2 separate regions of the Homo sapiens genome follow, and region 1 is linked to region 2. The links are contacts of gene promoters, found by promoter capture Hi-C in human tissues and cell types (Jung and others, 2019). All regions are on one chromosome and are shown on one strand. Each heading gives the region's core, a stretch centred on a gene start or on the middle of the fragment in contact. The rest is flanking DNA. Distances are from core to core; before and after follow the strand shown. Region 1 holds the start of QRFP (pyroglutamylated RFamide peptide). Region 2 overlaps FUBP3 (far upstream element binding protein 3).

Region 1 (6,336 bases), core at 3,837-6,336, 300 kb after region 2:
GTTAGCAAGCAGTGACAACATCCCTTTGCAGGAGGCATCCTGAACCACTCTGTCCTCAGACAGTGGCAGAGCCCAAGAGAACAATGTGCCCCACCCCTCCACCAGCCTCAGGAATCATTGTCTTGTCCCCATCACAGCAGCCCTAAGACTCAGGGCACATGCGCCAAGCCTGGGGGGCTAGTTTCTGTGTGGGAAGCGATGGGGAAGCGGTGAGGAGCTCCTGGAGAAGGTGGCAGCTTTCATACCGGGTGATGTTCTGACTCTGGTGTTCTCTCCCATCTCAGCACCCATTCTGCTCCCCAGTCAGGTTGGTTCTTTGTGGCTCAGATCTGTCACCCCTTAATGAAGTGGCTTTCTGGCTGCCAAGGATTGAGAGCTGCTACTGAGGAGTATAAGTCACTAATAGCATGGAAAACACTGTGAAATACTCCAAGGTGCCAAGCTGGGCCCAGCCCAGTGTGGTTCTAAAAGGCTAATAAAAATCCACCAATTAATTGTGACAGCTCAATGGGAAATTATTCAATTGTGAACAGGGGCAAGCTGCAGCTCGAAAGGAGGAGGGGAGGGGTTGCCATAGTAACATCAATGTAAGTTCTCATCTCAGCAGCGGAAGCCAGCCCGGGAGTGAGCAGCATCCGACCGCCGCCTCTGACACGGGATGGGATGCAGGAGACACCAAAGGCGCGTTTGAAACAGATGCTTTGCCTGGCCCCGGGCCTGCAGCCACTCCCGGCTGAGCGTGGGCTCTCCCCGGGGCAGAGAAGTTGTTTTCCGAATGTTCCTTGCTCTTAGGAAACCTGGGAAGGAGCAGCCGAGTGGAAGTGAAAAGCACATGTGCTGTGTTCCTCCGCCCCTTTGACCGACTGCCGGTTACAGGGATCTAGAGGAGGGGTGTTTGGGTCCAGTCAACAGGAGCTCCATCTCCCGAAAGGCAAGGCACCCAGAACTCAGACTGTGGGGGAGGCCAGCATTCCAGTATGGTTTTGCAGTTGTCACAACTTTTATTTGAAAAGATACACACGACATATTCTGATTTTGAACATGTGAAATGCAACCTTGCTATAGCAAAAACGGGATTCCTTCCCAACGCATCTCCCAGGAGACTCCTGGCCGGGCTAACACTGGGCCGCGGAGAAGGGCTGCGGTCAGAGGGGCAGGCAAACCACAGCAGGGGCTTCTTGCCAGGGGGATCTTGTGCTCATGGCATGGAGAAGGGGATCGGGTTCTTTTTTCCCATTTTTAACTTTCAGAACCATCCTCTGTACCCAGTGGAATGCACTCATTTGCACTCTGATGTCAGCCGCAGTCGTGCCTATAGAGACTGTCACAACTTTGATTACCCAACTGTAAGCACTCAGCCCGCTGCCTCGCTCTGCTATTCACACTCATGGCCCAGCCACAGCCTCAGCTCCGTGCCCCTGGGGCCAGGGGGCTGCTCGGAGTCAAAGCCCCAGGGGAAGAGAGAGGCTGGGACGACCGAGGCTCCAAGACAGCCTCCTTTTTGACACTGCCTAGTTTTTCGCTTCAGCAAAGTTGGAAATCAAAAGTAAGCACACACCTAACCTGTCCTACCATGGATCGTTCATCGTAACCAAGCCTACATCATCTGGGTGTCGTGGTCTTTGAGACTGGGGGAGAAGGCAGGAGTGAAGACAATGGGGGTGAGTCCAAGAAGCAAATCCTTCCAAGGCGTCCTGGCCCTTCACCGCCGACCGAAGCGGAAGCTGAAGCCGCCTTTCTTCCTGCTGTAGCCATTGAGCTCCTCAGCCAGGTTCCCTAACGGGCCGCTGGTCTTCTCCCCCGCAGCAGGGAGGAAGCCGGTGGCCTCACTGCCTTCGTCCTGCCTCCCGAAGCGGAATCTGCAGCCAGCATGCTCTCTGCCCGATGTCTGCAGCCCCCTGGCTATGACAAGCAGGGCCTGTGGCTGTGAAGCTCTCAGCCACCGAGAGGAACCCCACACGGAGTGGGGTCGGGGCCCCATGGCCAGGTCGGCCCAGCGTTCTCCAGCTCCGAGGCCACCCATGGCGTCTGTGGGCTCTCTTCTGTCCAGTAGAGGGAAGCAGGCGCCCAGCGGCAGGAAGAGGAAGTAGATCAGGGGGTAAGGCCTTACCATCTGACCCAGAGGAAAGAGAGGCAGAGTGACAGGCTGCACACGTGGCCAAGCGCAACTCACCAAAATGTTTCCCCGGGACAGGCTGGCAGCGTAGATGTGAGCAGGGGGCTCAGCTGAGCCCGGCTTCCGAGCAGTGCTGGGACTAGGCCACTGTTTTATTAGCAGGATCAGGAGGTGATTGTGCCAGTTAGGCCGGTTCTTCTCCTGCAGTCCCCACGATCTGCGTGCCTGGGCAGCTTAGCACCGTAAATCCACCGCTGCTGGCTGGCAGAGCAGTGCCCAGGCGGCCCCGGGAGAGTCAGCAAATGTATGCTCATTTTTCTCTTATTATAAAATGGCCATATCATTGCAGAGCCATGGGGTGGAAAGTTAAAAGCATCAATCTCCCTTAGTGTTCAACTGGATAATAAATGGGTCTAGCTATGCTGTTTAGCTGGGACATCCTGCTAATGTCTCTTTCACGTGGGAACGAGTTGCTCCTGAAAGCCAGAAACAGATTGGATGGTCCTGGCCTAATTCGGACACCCACCTGGGAAGGAGTGTGTGGACACCACTGGGGCCTGGGCACCGTAGGTCTGCCAGGCTCTGAGCCAAGAGCTCACACATGTGATTGTACTTCATCTTCATAGTACTCCTGCTTGGTAGGTCCGGCCAGTCCCACTTTTTCAGGCAACAAAACTGTCAGAAAAACTGAGATTGTGCCCAGGCCACACAGCCAGAAAGTGGAGGCTCTGGATTCATGATTCTAATGGCCAGACGGCTTCTTCAAGAAGCATACATATCTGCTAGGTACTCCCAACCCTCCTATTTCACAGGGGTGGTGTCGGTCTCAAACAGCTGAGGTGACTTGCCCCAGATCTCATGGCCTTATCAGTGCCAGAGCTAGAGTTCAATCCCAGGTCTAACTGGGCTTGACTCAGGAAGGCGTGCCCTAACTCCCTCCTCTGTACTCCACATGGCACTCGGGGGATCTGAAACCCAGCCTCCTGTAATGAACCTGCCTTGGTAACACTTGCTCCCTTGTCTGGCAAAGAAAACCTTTTTGACAATGACCGCGGGGGAGCTGGAGCTGGCTTGTCCTCCGCAGAGTCAAACTGAGGCTAGACTAGAGAGCACCGGCCCTGGAGAAGACAGTACAGGAGTCCCCAGAGCCCTTTCCAGAAATGGCTCCCTCGAACACATTTCAAAGAAGCGAGCTCAGCCAGGAAGCTTTTAAAAAAATAATACATGCAACCCCACTTTCTACCCAAATCCAGTTCTTCTAAGCTTTCGTCCCCCAGGGATGGAGTGACCTCCCTCATGCTGCCAGGAAAACCTTTCCATCAGGGCGCAGGCAGAGTGGGGGCTTCCACGAGGTGACTTTCTGCAGCGGCCCAGCCCATTCCCTCCTCCCCATAGGAAGCACTTTGCTGACTGCGATGTGGACCAGGGACCGTTGCATCCTGGTGGATAAATCCACCCGGGAGTGGCCTCTGGGTGTCTAGAAAGGAGACAGCCTGACAGAGCAGGCCCTGGAGTGGCCCTTCACCCCTTTTAGGGGTTCATGCACCCCTTCAAGAATCTGGTAGAAAGTGGGGATGCTCATCACGGGACAGGCGGCCCCAGCGCGAGTCAGGGCTTCAGGCCCCACAGCCAGGAAGGGACAGGAAAAGCACGGGTGAGGCTGGGTCCCAGCCCTGGCAGGGCAGCCGTGACCAATCTGTGCTGCTCTGGGCTGTTGGCAGGGGAGGCACTGGTGTCCCCTCTCCGGGCACTCCCTCCCTGTGCTTCTGTGTGCCCTCTGACTGCCCATGCCTGGCTCCTGCCTGGGCAGGGCCTGAGCTGGGGTTCCTGCTGGGGACAGGGCAGCTATGCTCACCGTGTGGCTGGGACTGCTCCCAGGAAGGCTGGCTGGTGGATCGCTGGGCTCCGGGGCTGGGCTGGGCAGAGCTGCTCTGGGTCCTCGTCCAGGAGGCATGGCCCCTGGGCTCTCCCTGCTTTATATGGCCCGCGGTGCGCTTGCTGCTCTGCCGACTGCCTGCTGCGCATTCCTGACCCTGGGATTCCATTGGGGACGCTGTTGTTGAAGAGGGGCAGTGCTGACCGCGTTGATAAAAACAACCTCACACAGGATGTAGTCTGATGAGAGGGCAGGCGGGCTGCCCTTTGGAGGAGAGCAGACAGCATCATTAACTGCAAATTGCGGGCACAGACCCTCGAGTCCCTTGGCGGGGGTTCCAAGCCCACCCTTCACCCTAAGGGTCCTGCCTTTGCTGGGTTGGCACCTCACGCTCCGGAGAGGACATGGGGTGGGTGGACATCTACCCGACACACCTACTGCCCAGCTTGCAGGATGGCTTTCATGGGCAGGAAAGCCACAGACACCCATGAGGCCCGTGTTTCACAGGCACCGGGCTGCGCGGCTAAGCCAGGTGCACCTCCCCGGCAGGTGGAGCCCTCAGCGGCCTGTTACCCAGGAACCAACCAAGGGGGCACGGCAGATGCCCAGGACAGCAGTGGAGCATTTGCCTGTGGCCCCCAGCCCCTCCCACCGCATACCCTGGGTGGCCCCCTACTGTCACCGAGGGTCACCTCTGGGAGGCCAGCAGGAGGACCCAGCCTCTGCTCCTTGCCCGGCAGAGATTCTCCCTCCACTGAGAGCAGGCAGGGGGGTGATGAGGCAGCCCCACCCCACCACTGTCAGGAACTGAGCACAGAGGGCCTCCCCCATTCCAGGGGCCCTCACCCAGCCGACCTACCCCTGCATCCCGGCTGCTGGGGGATCAGAAGTCATGGGAATAGAGAGCCTGTGGACACTTCCCCAGAGACCTGAGGAAGGCACTGGAATCTCGATCCTCCACTTCGGGGCTGAGCGCCCAGGTTCGGGCGGAGGGTCTGCGGATTGAAGCCGATGACTGAGCTTTGCTGGCCAGAACCAGCTTCCATCCCCCAGGCCAGGGCTGCCTCCGATGGCCTGAGGTGCCCCTGTCCTGTGTGTGCATGTGTGTGTATGCCCCCACATGAGTATGTGCACACGTGCGTACACGTGTGTGTGCTCGTGAGACGGGAGGTGTGGTGTCCTTCTGTCTCCCTGGTTAGTGCTGGTTGATTCTGACAGCGGGCACCAGTTATCCATGGGGTGCCGCCCAGGGTGGGTCTCTACCGTGCTATGAGCCTGGACCGGATGCCTGCCCTCTGGGTGCCTCAGTGCTCCCTTGGTGTAAAGCGAGGTTCAAGTTCCCAAGCTGTGCTTTGCAGAATTCCTCAGGAATGGCCATGGAAGTTGGGGAAGGCAACATGGGGTCCAATCCCGCAGGCACCCCTCTCCTACAGGCACCCCACTCCCCTACAGGCTACCCCTCTGCCCTACAGGCACCCCTTTGCCCCACACGCACCCCTCTGCCCCACAGACACTCCTCTGCCCTACAGGCACCTCTCTGCCCCGCAGGCACCCCTGTGACCCACATGCACCCCTGTGCCCCGCAGGCACCCCTGTGCCCCGCACGCACCCCTGTGCCCTGCATGCACCCCTGTGCCCCGCACACACCCCTGTGCCCTGCACGCGCCCCTGTGCCCCTCAGGCCAAGCCCCACTTTGCTGTGTTTGACATGTTGAGCTCCCAGAAAAGGTTCTGCTTTGAAACCACCAGGGCCCGGAGTCCTTTTGCGGGACTGAGGTCTGTGGCTCTGAGAGGTGGTCACAGAATGTCCTGCATGTGAGGGGCTGGTCTGGGGTGGGAGCAATATTGGGGTGAGGATGAGGGGTCCCCACGTGGCCCACATGTTCCCCAGCCTCAGGTCCCCGCCTGCCCCCTTCAGACCGGGGTGCCTGGAGCCCAGTCAGGCGTTGGATTTGGTGCCAAACCTTCTGACTCCAGGGACTTGCCTGGTCCCCTCCACCCCTGGAACTCCTGGACGGAAAAATTGCTTTCAGATGCCCTTCCTGGGCCCCTGGAAGCATCTGGGTTCCCCCACCTCTTGAGCAATTGGGGGTGACAACTGTGCCACTGTTTGCCACCAGCAGCCGAGATAGGCAGGGTCTGGGCTGCCTGGATGCACAGGGTGGCCGGGGCTAGATCAGTCCAAGAGTGGCAGTACCCATCGGGGCGGCTTCCAGCGCTGGAGGCTTTTTCTGCTGTCGGGTAAATGCAGGGAGGCGAGGCGTGAGGGTGGTGGGGCTGGTGGTGCAGGAAGCCGCTCTGGGGGTGGAGTCCGTGGACCACCTCGAAGCCTGTGGGGTTCCCT
Region 2 (5,968 bases), core at 3,379-5,878:
TACGTTTTTAAATCCTCCAGTTCATAGACTTGTTTGCAAATCTCAATGTCCTGAATAAACCCTATGTTAAGGTTCTTTTTAGTTAACTTAAGAGTTGAAGTATTTTATTTTATTTGTAATTTTTGTGAGTGCATAGGTGTATATATTTATGGGGTACATGAGATGTTTTGATGCAGGCCTGCAATGTGAAATAAGCACCTCGTGGAAAACGGGGGTATCCATCCCCTCAAGCATTTATCTTTTGAGTTACAAACAATCCAGTTACTCTCTTTATTTTAAAATGTACAATTAAGTTATTGTTGGCTATAGTCACCCTGTTGTGCTATCAAATAGTAGGTCTTATTCGTACCCATTAACCCCCCTCCCCCCTGAGTCCCCTTAGCCCCCTACTACCCTTCCCAGCCTCTGGTAACCATCCTTCTACTCTCTATGTCCATGAGTTCAACTGTTTTGATTTTTATATTGCATAAATAAGTGAGAACATGTAATTTTTGTCTTTCTCCGCCTGGCTTATTTCACTTAACATAATGATCTCCAGCTCCATCCATGTTGTTGCAAATGACTGGATCTCATTCTTTTTTATGGCTGAGTTGAAGTGTTTTTAAATAGACCCAAATAACACCTCCAAAAAGTTCTAGAGGACTGAACTTTAACCTCGTAAAGGTTAACCCTGCTTCAAGGGAAAGTTAGAAAGTTCATGTTGCTAAAGAAGTGATCTGGTAGCCTCTGTCAAAGAAAACCCAAGCCAAACCAAACAAACAGCTACACAGCCTTTGGAAATCTTTATTGCTAAGAAAAATGTGCCAGAATTCCGGCCGCTTGGTCTGCCTCTGCTTTTCTAAACTTTTCATCACGCCATCAGCAAGACTGTGAGCCTAGAAGGTGGCCAGGTAAACATGAACATCACTTCCCTTCACAGGATCTGCTTATTCACATTCTTTGTCTCTTAAGAGAGTGGCCCAGTGACCTTACCCCTACCAGAAGACAACTGACAAAAAGGGGCTGTGGCAGTCCCCAGACGCTGAGATCAACACAGAACTCAAATTCTACACGTGGAGAACAGCTTGGAGAAAAAAACAATATGTGTAATCCTGTTATTTAAACAGTGCTCAACAGAAGACACGATTAATTTTATCGAGCTGTAATACAGAATGTAAGAAGCCTGAGGGAAATTCCTTGTTCTTCAAATACAGCCTGTTGTTACCTAAGACCGGGTGTTCAGGGAGGATGAGAGATTCAGCACGACACAGAAACTTTCCTTCTTGCTATAGGAGGGCTTCATATTTAGAGGGAAGAAAAAGATAAACCATGGTCATTTTCTGTTTGTGAAGACTTATTCCCCAAAAGGTAGACATGGAAAAAAATATGGTTATCAAAACAAGTAAGTGAAAATACGCAATATAAATGAACCCGAGGTTTTAAGTGAGATTCTGGACCTACTGGGTGATCTTTGGCCAAGTCAGCTAACATCTGCCTGTGACCCAGTTCTCTTTATCAATACTGATAATCTCTTTATTAGTGCTAATTTCTTTCAAATGTATGTGCAATGGACTAATGGGAGAAAAATGTCTGCAAAATGCTAGAGGGTTTCATTTGCAAATATTTAGGTATTCCTTATGCAGAGGACGCAGCAGATACCTGCTCACTGCAAGCACAAGTTTTAACCCTTCAGCGCCAGGCAGTGGGTGAAAAAAACAAGGCTGAATTGTGAAATTGTTGTGAAAGGCTGAATGAGTTGTGAAATATATTGATCTCAATTTCTGGAAACACTGGGCCAAAGAGACACTGTCCGTTAGTGAGGTGTGTGCACAGAGGCAGACAACTTAGTTTTGTTTTTACGTTGCTGTCTCAAGAGGAACCAAAGTATGATTGCCTCGAAAAGGTAAAGAGGTTACTTTGCATTACAGCTTTCTGCTAAGGCAAAAATGCAGTTAATGCAATCATCCCTATTTGGCCTAGGGAATCACTAACACCAGTCAAATATAAAAAGATCACAGCGTACTATTTTGGATAAGTAGTTTAAATGGTTATCTTAGTTCCAGTGGCCCTGGGGTGGATTTTCTGTTTTGTGGTCATAAACACTTTGTAAATACACACGAATTTTTACAATCAAGTGAGTGCCATCCCCTTAAAATCTTCAGTGTGAGTCTAAAGAATTTTCCCCCAAAGGCTCCCACATCTAAAAACAGTGGCCATCTCCTCTTAGAATTCCTAGAGATGCCCAGCATGGTGGCTCACACCTGTAATCCCAGCTACCCAGGAGGCTGAGGTGGTGGGAAAGCTTGAGCCCAGACATTCGAGGCCAGCCTGGGCAACATAGCAAAACCGTATTTCCGAAAAATAAATAAGGCCGGGCACTGTGGCTCACGCCTGTAATCCCAGCACTTTGGGAGGCCAAGGCAGGCAAATCACGAGGTCAGGAGATTGAGACCATCCTGGCTGACACGGTGAAACCCCGTCTCTACTAAAAATACAAAAAATTAGCTGGATGTCATGGCACGCGCCTGTAGTCCCAGCTGCTTGGGAGGCTGAGGCAGGAGAATCACTTGAACCTGGGAGACGGAGGTTGCAGTGAGCCAAGATCGCACCACTGCACTCCAGCCTGGGCAACAGAGTGAGACTCCATCTCAAAAAATACATATATACATATATAGATACACATATATACACACATATATACACATATATATAAGTATATGTGTGTGTGTGTGTGTGTGTGTGTATATATATATATATGTAAAGTTTTTTTTAATATGCTAGGCAGTGGAACAAGGGAAAGGATTTGTTCCTGATATAGAAAGGGATTTGGGTTAGTTGTGTTTCAGAGAGTGGCAGTTTTGAGCCACTTGTCAGAACGCTGTTCATGAGTCTGCTTAGAACCCAGAGCAGAATTTAGAGCTCAGTTTGAAAGCTTGCCTGAATGCCTGTCCGTGGGAAGAGCAGTCACCAGTCACTCCACCGCCCTCCAGCTTTGGATCAGGCCATTTTAACCTTCACTGTCTTCAATCTTGATACCCACATGTTCCAGCAGTCTTTGATATGCATCCTTGGCACCCCACCAGTTCAGGAATCTGCCTTCTGGTCTCAGTTGTGGCACCTTTTTCATCCAGTACTTCTCTCATGTTTCAACTGGAGCCTCTCCCTGCAGTCAGTCCAACCAGTTTCATTCCTCCAGTAACCAGGGAGGTGCAGATCTTGCAACCTGGCCATTGCCTGCCCTCCCGCTTGGCTCCTCCCGTGCACCTCCTGTGCTCCTCCTGTGTAGCAGCCTGGCTGCCTGTCTCCTCTCTCCCCTCACCCAGCTCTTAACCTGCCCAACTCCTGCTCAGCCAACTTCTTCCTAGAAACCTGTCCTCTTCCTTATCTTTTGACTTTCTTCGGGGCTCAGCCCACATGCCACCTAGCCTCTTGGTCTTCTCTCTACCTTTTCCTTCCTTCCTCCCTCCCTCCCTCCCTCCCTCCCTCTTTCCCCCTCTTTTCCCTTTTTCACACACCCACCTGACCAGTGAATATTAAGTCATATCCTTCTCTGAATTTCTAAAGCAGTGTATTTGCCCTCTGCTCAGGGCAGACCTTCCTTCCGCGGTTACTGGGTCCCGCTGTGCACCTCTCCTAGCAGAGCCTACGTGATGTGGCCATAAAGACTGGCTTCATTTCCCATGGACTCTTCATGCTCAAGTTCTCCCATGTTTTTCATGCTCAAGTTCTCCCGTGTTTCCTACGATTTGCATTTTTAAATTTTGGGAAAAGTAAGTTCCAAATTTAAGACAATAGTATTAGCTAAGTGATTTAGAAGTGCGAATTTAAATGTAATCTAAATTAGAGGTTGGCAAGCTTTTCTTTCTTTTTTTTAAAGACAGGGTCTCACTCTTGCTGAGGCTGGAGTGCAGTGGGGCAGTCATGGTTCACTGCAGCCTCTATCCCCCAGGCTCAGGTGATCCTCCCACCTCAGCCTCCTGGGTAGCTGGGACTGCACTGCACCTGGCAACAAGCTTTTTTATAAAGGACCTGATAGTAAGCATTTTAGGGGCCAGGCATGGTGGCTTATGCCTATAATCCCAGCACTTTGGGAGGCCGAGGTGGGAGGATTGCTTGCGTCCAGGAGTTTGAGACCAGCCTGGGCAATATAGCAAGACCCCATCTCTACAAAAAAATGAAAGAAGATTAGCTGGGTGTGGTGGTGCATGCCTGCAGCCCCAGCTACTCAGGAGGCTGAGGTGGGAGGATTGCCTGAGCCTGGGAGGTCAAGACCACAGTAAGCAGTGATCGCACCACTGCACTCCGCTTGGGTGACATAGTGATCTCAGAACAAACAAAAATAAATTTAAGCTTGCAGGCTATGTATCCCACCTACTAAGCTACGCTATTGGAGTTCAAAAACAGCTGTAGCATCTACATAAACAAAGAGCATGGCTGTGAGCCAATAAGATATTTCACCGAAACAGGCAGCTGGCCCTCAAGCTTAATTTGCCAGCCCTCAACTAAAATCAGCCTCATCAGTTGATGAAAACATTTTCTTCATCTTTAGTTAGGGAAGTATATAGAGAGTACCCCTCCCCCAGTTTCTTTAAACAAGTCTCCCGTCTCATGGTTCACTGTCCAACTGCCCTAACCACCTGAAACAAGTGCTTTCTCATGTTTGCCCAGAGCTGATGGACAGACAGAGAAGTCACTTCCCATTTGTCCCTCTGTATCTCTCCTGATCAAAGATCAAAGCCTTTCCAGTTTTCTTCCTCAGGAGCATTTTTAGGAGCTTTTTTAGTTGAACTAAGCAGGCCTCATACTCCCCCTGCATTCTGTGTAGTGGGTGGCACCAAAACCAGGACTTCAGGAGAGTACAGCACTGTCCTCACCACTGGGGTGGCGGGGGTAAGGCCATGCAAGGGGCTTTGAAACTATGCCTGCCTCTTCACTCAAAGACTCGTCTTTGCTATTTATGTAGCACCTTTTTTTTTGTCCTTTTTATTCTTTTTACTTCATGACCTGCTGAAGAACAGCACCTTTTATAGTACCACACTTTCTACTTTTGATAATACAGTTGTTCCCCATTTATTCATGACTTCGTTTTCCACGGTTTCAGTTACCCACGGTCAACCACTGCCGAAATTATTAAATGGAAATTTTAGAAATAATTCCTAATTTTTTTTTTTTTTTTTTGAGATGGAGTCTTGCTCTGTCACCCAGGCTGGAGTGTAGTGGTGCGATCTTGGCTCACTGCAACCTCTGCCTCCCAGGTTCAAGTGATTCTCCTGCCTCAGCCTCCCAATTAGCTGGGATTACAGGCGTGCGCCACCACAACTAGCTAATTTTTGTATTTTTAGTAGAGATGGGGTTTCACCATGTTGGCCAGGCTGGTCTTGAACTCCTGACCTCGTGATCCACCTGCCTCGGCCTCCCAGAGGGCTGGGATTACAGGCGTGAGCCACCGCACCCAGCCAATTCCTAATTTTTAAATTGTACACCATTCTGAGTAGCATGTGTATCCACACTGTATACACTACCCACTCACCAATGTATAGGAAAAAATGTAGCGTATACAGGGTTCGGTACTCTCCATGGCTTCAGCCACCTACCAGGGGTCTTGGAACATATCCCTCATGGATGAGGGGGAACTGCTGTATTCTTACGGGGTAAAGGACGAATTCTTGGGCGTTCTGTCAAATGAATTATTTGCAGGAAGAGTGAAATAGACTATTTCTGTGATCCTTTCCAAGCTTTGTTTCAGTACTTGTGGCATAGGGCAAGGACAGAAAAGGAAGACAGGAGGGAGGAAAAGACGTTTGAAAATCCCAGACCTCAAGGAGAGACAGGAGATAGGAGGTACAAGTGCTAGCGGTGGTGAGAGCCATGATGCCCGGACCCCTGCCTGTGACCTGCACCCCAGGCAGGTGCTGAGGCCACCAGTCTCCACTCTGGAAAGAGGGAAGTGAATCTCAGAAGTGTTGATACTTTCCCTGAATGGGGGATG

The links. Contacts are between HindIII fragments. The study calls those that stand out against the background at their distance.
Region 1: the fragment with the promoter of QRFP here is called in contact with a fragment that was not itself captured in region 2 in 6 of the 25 tissues and cell types used here (H1 embryonic stem cells, bladder, dorsolateral prefrontal cortex and 3 more).

Annotation. Positions count from the first base shown.
Region 1 is chr9:130,891,726-130,898,061 of GRCh38, forward strand. QRFP (pyroglutamylated RFamide peptide) reads right to left here and starts at 5,087. Exons shown (of 3, transcript NM_198180.3): 1 at 4,852-5,087; 2 at 3,972-4,256; 3 at 982-2,113. The coding sequence starts at 2,113. The coding sequence ends at 1,703. RefSeq lists enhancers at 1,905-2,419, 3,208-3,895, 3,896-4,582. The HindIII fragment of the contact is 19,380 bases long and covers 1-6,109 here.
Region 2 is chr9:130,596,663-130,602,630 of GRCh38, forward strand. The region is part of intron 2 of FUBP3 (far upstream element binding protein 3); the gene reads left to right. Among named protein-coding and RNA genes, the nearest start is that of FUBP3, 20 kb to the left of the region's middle. The HindIII fragment of the contact is 4,064 bases long and covers 2,597-5,968 here.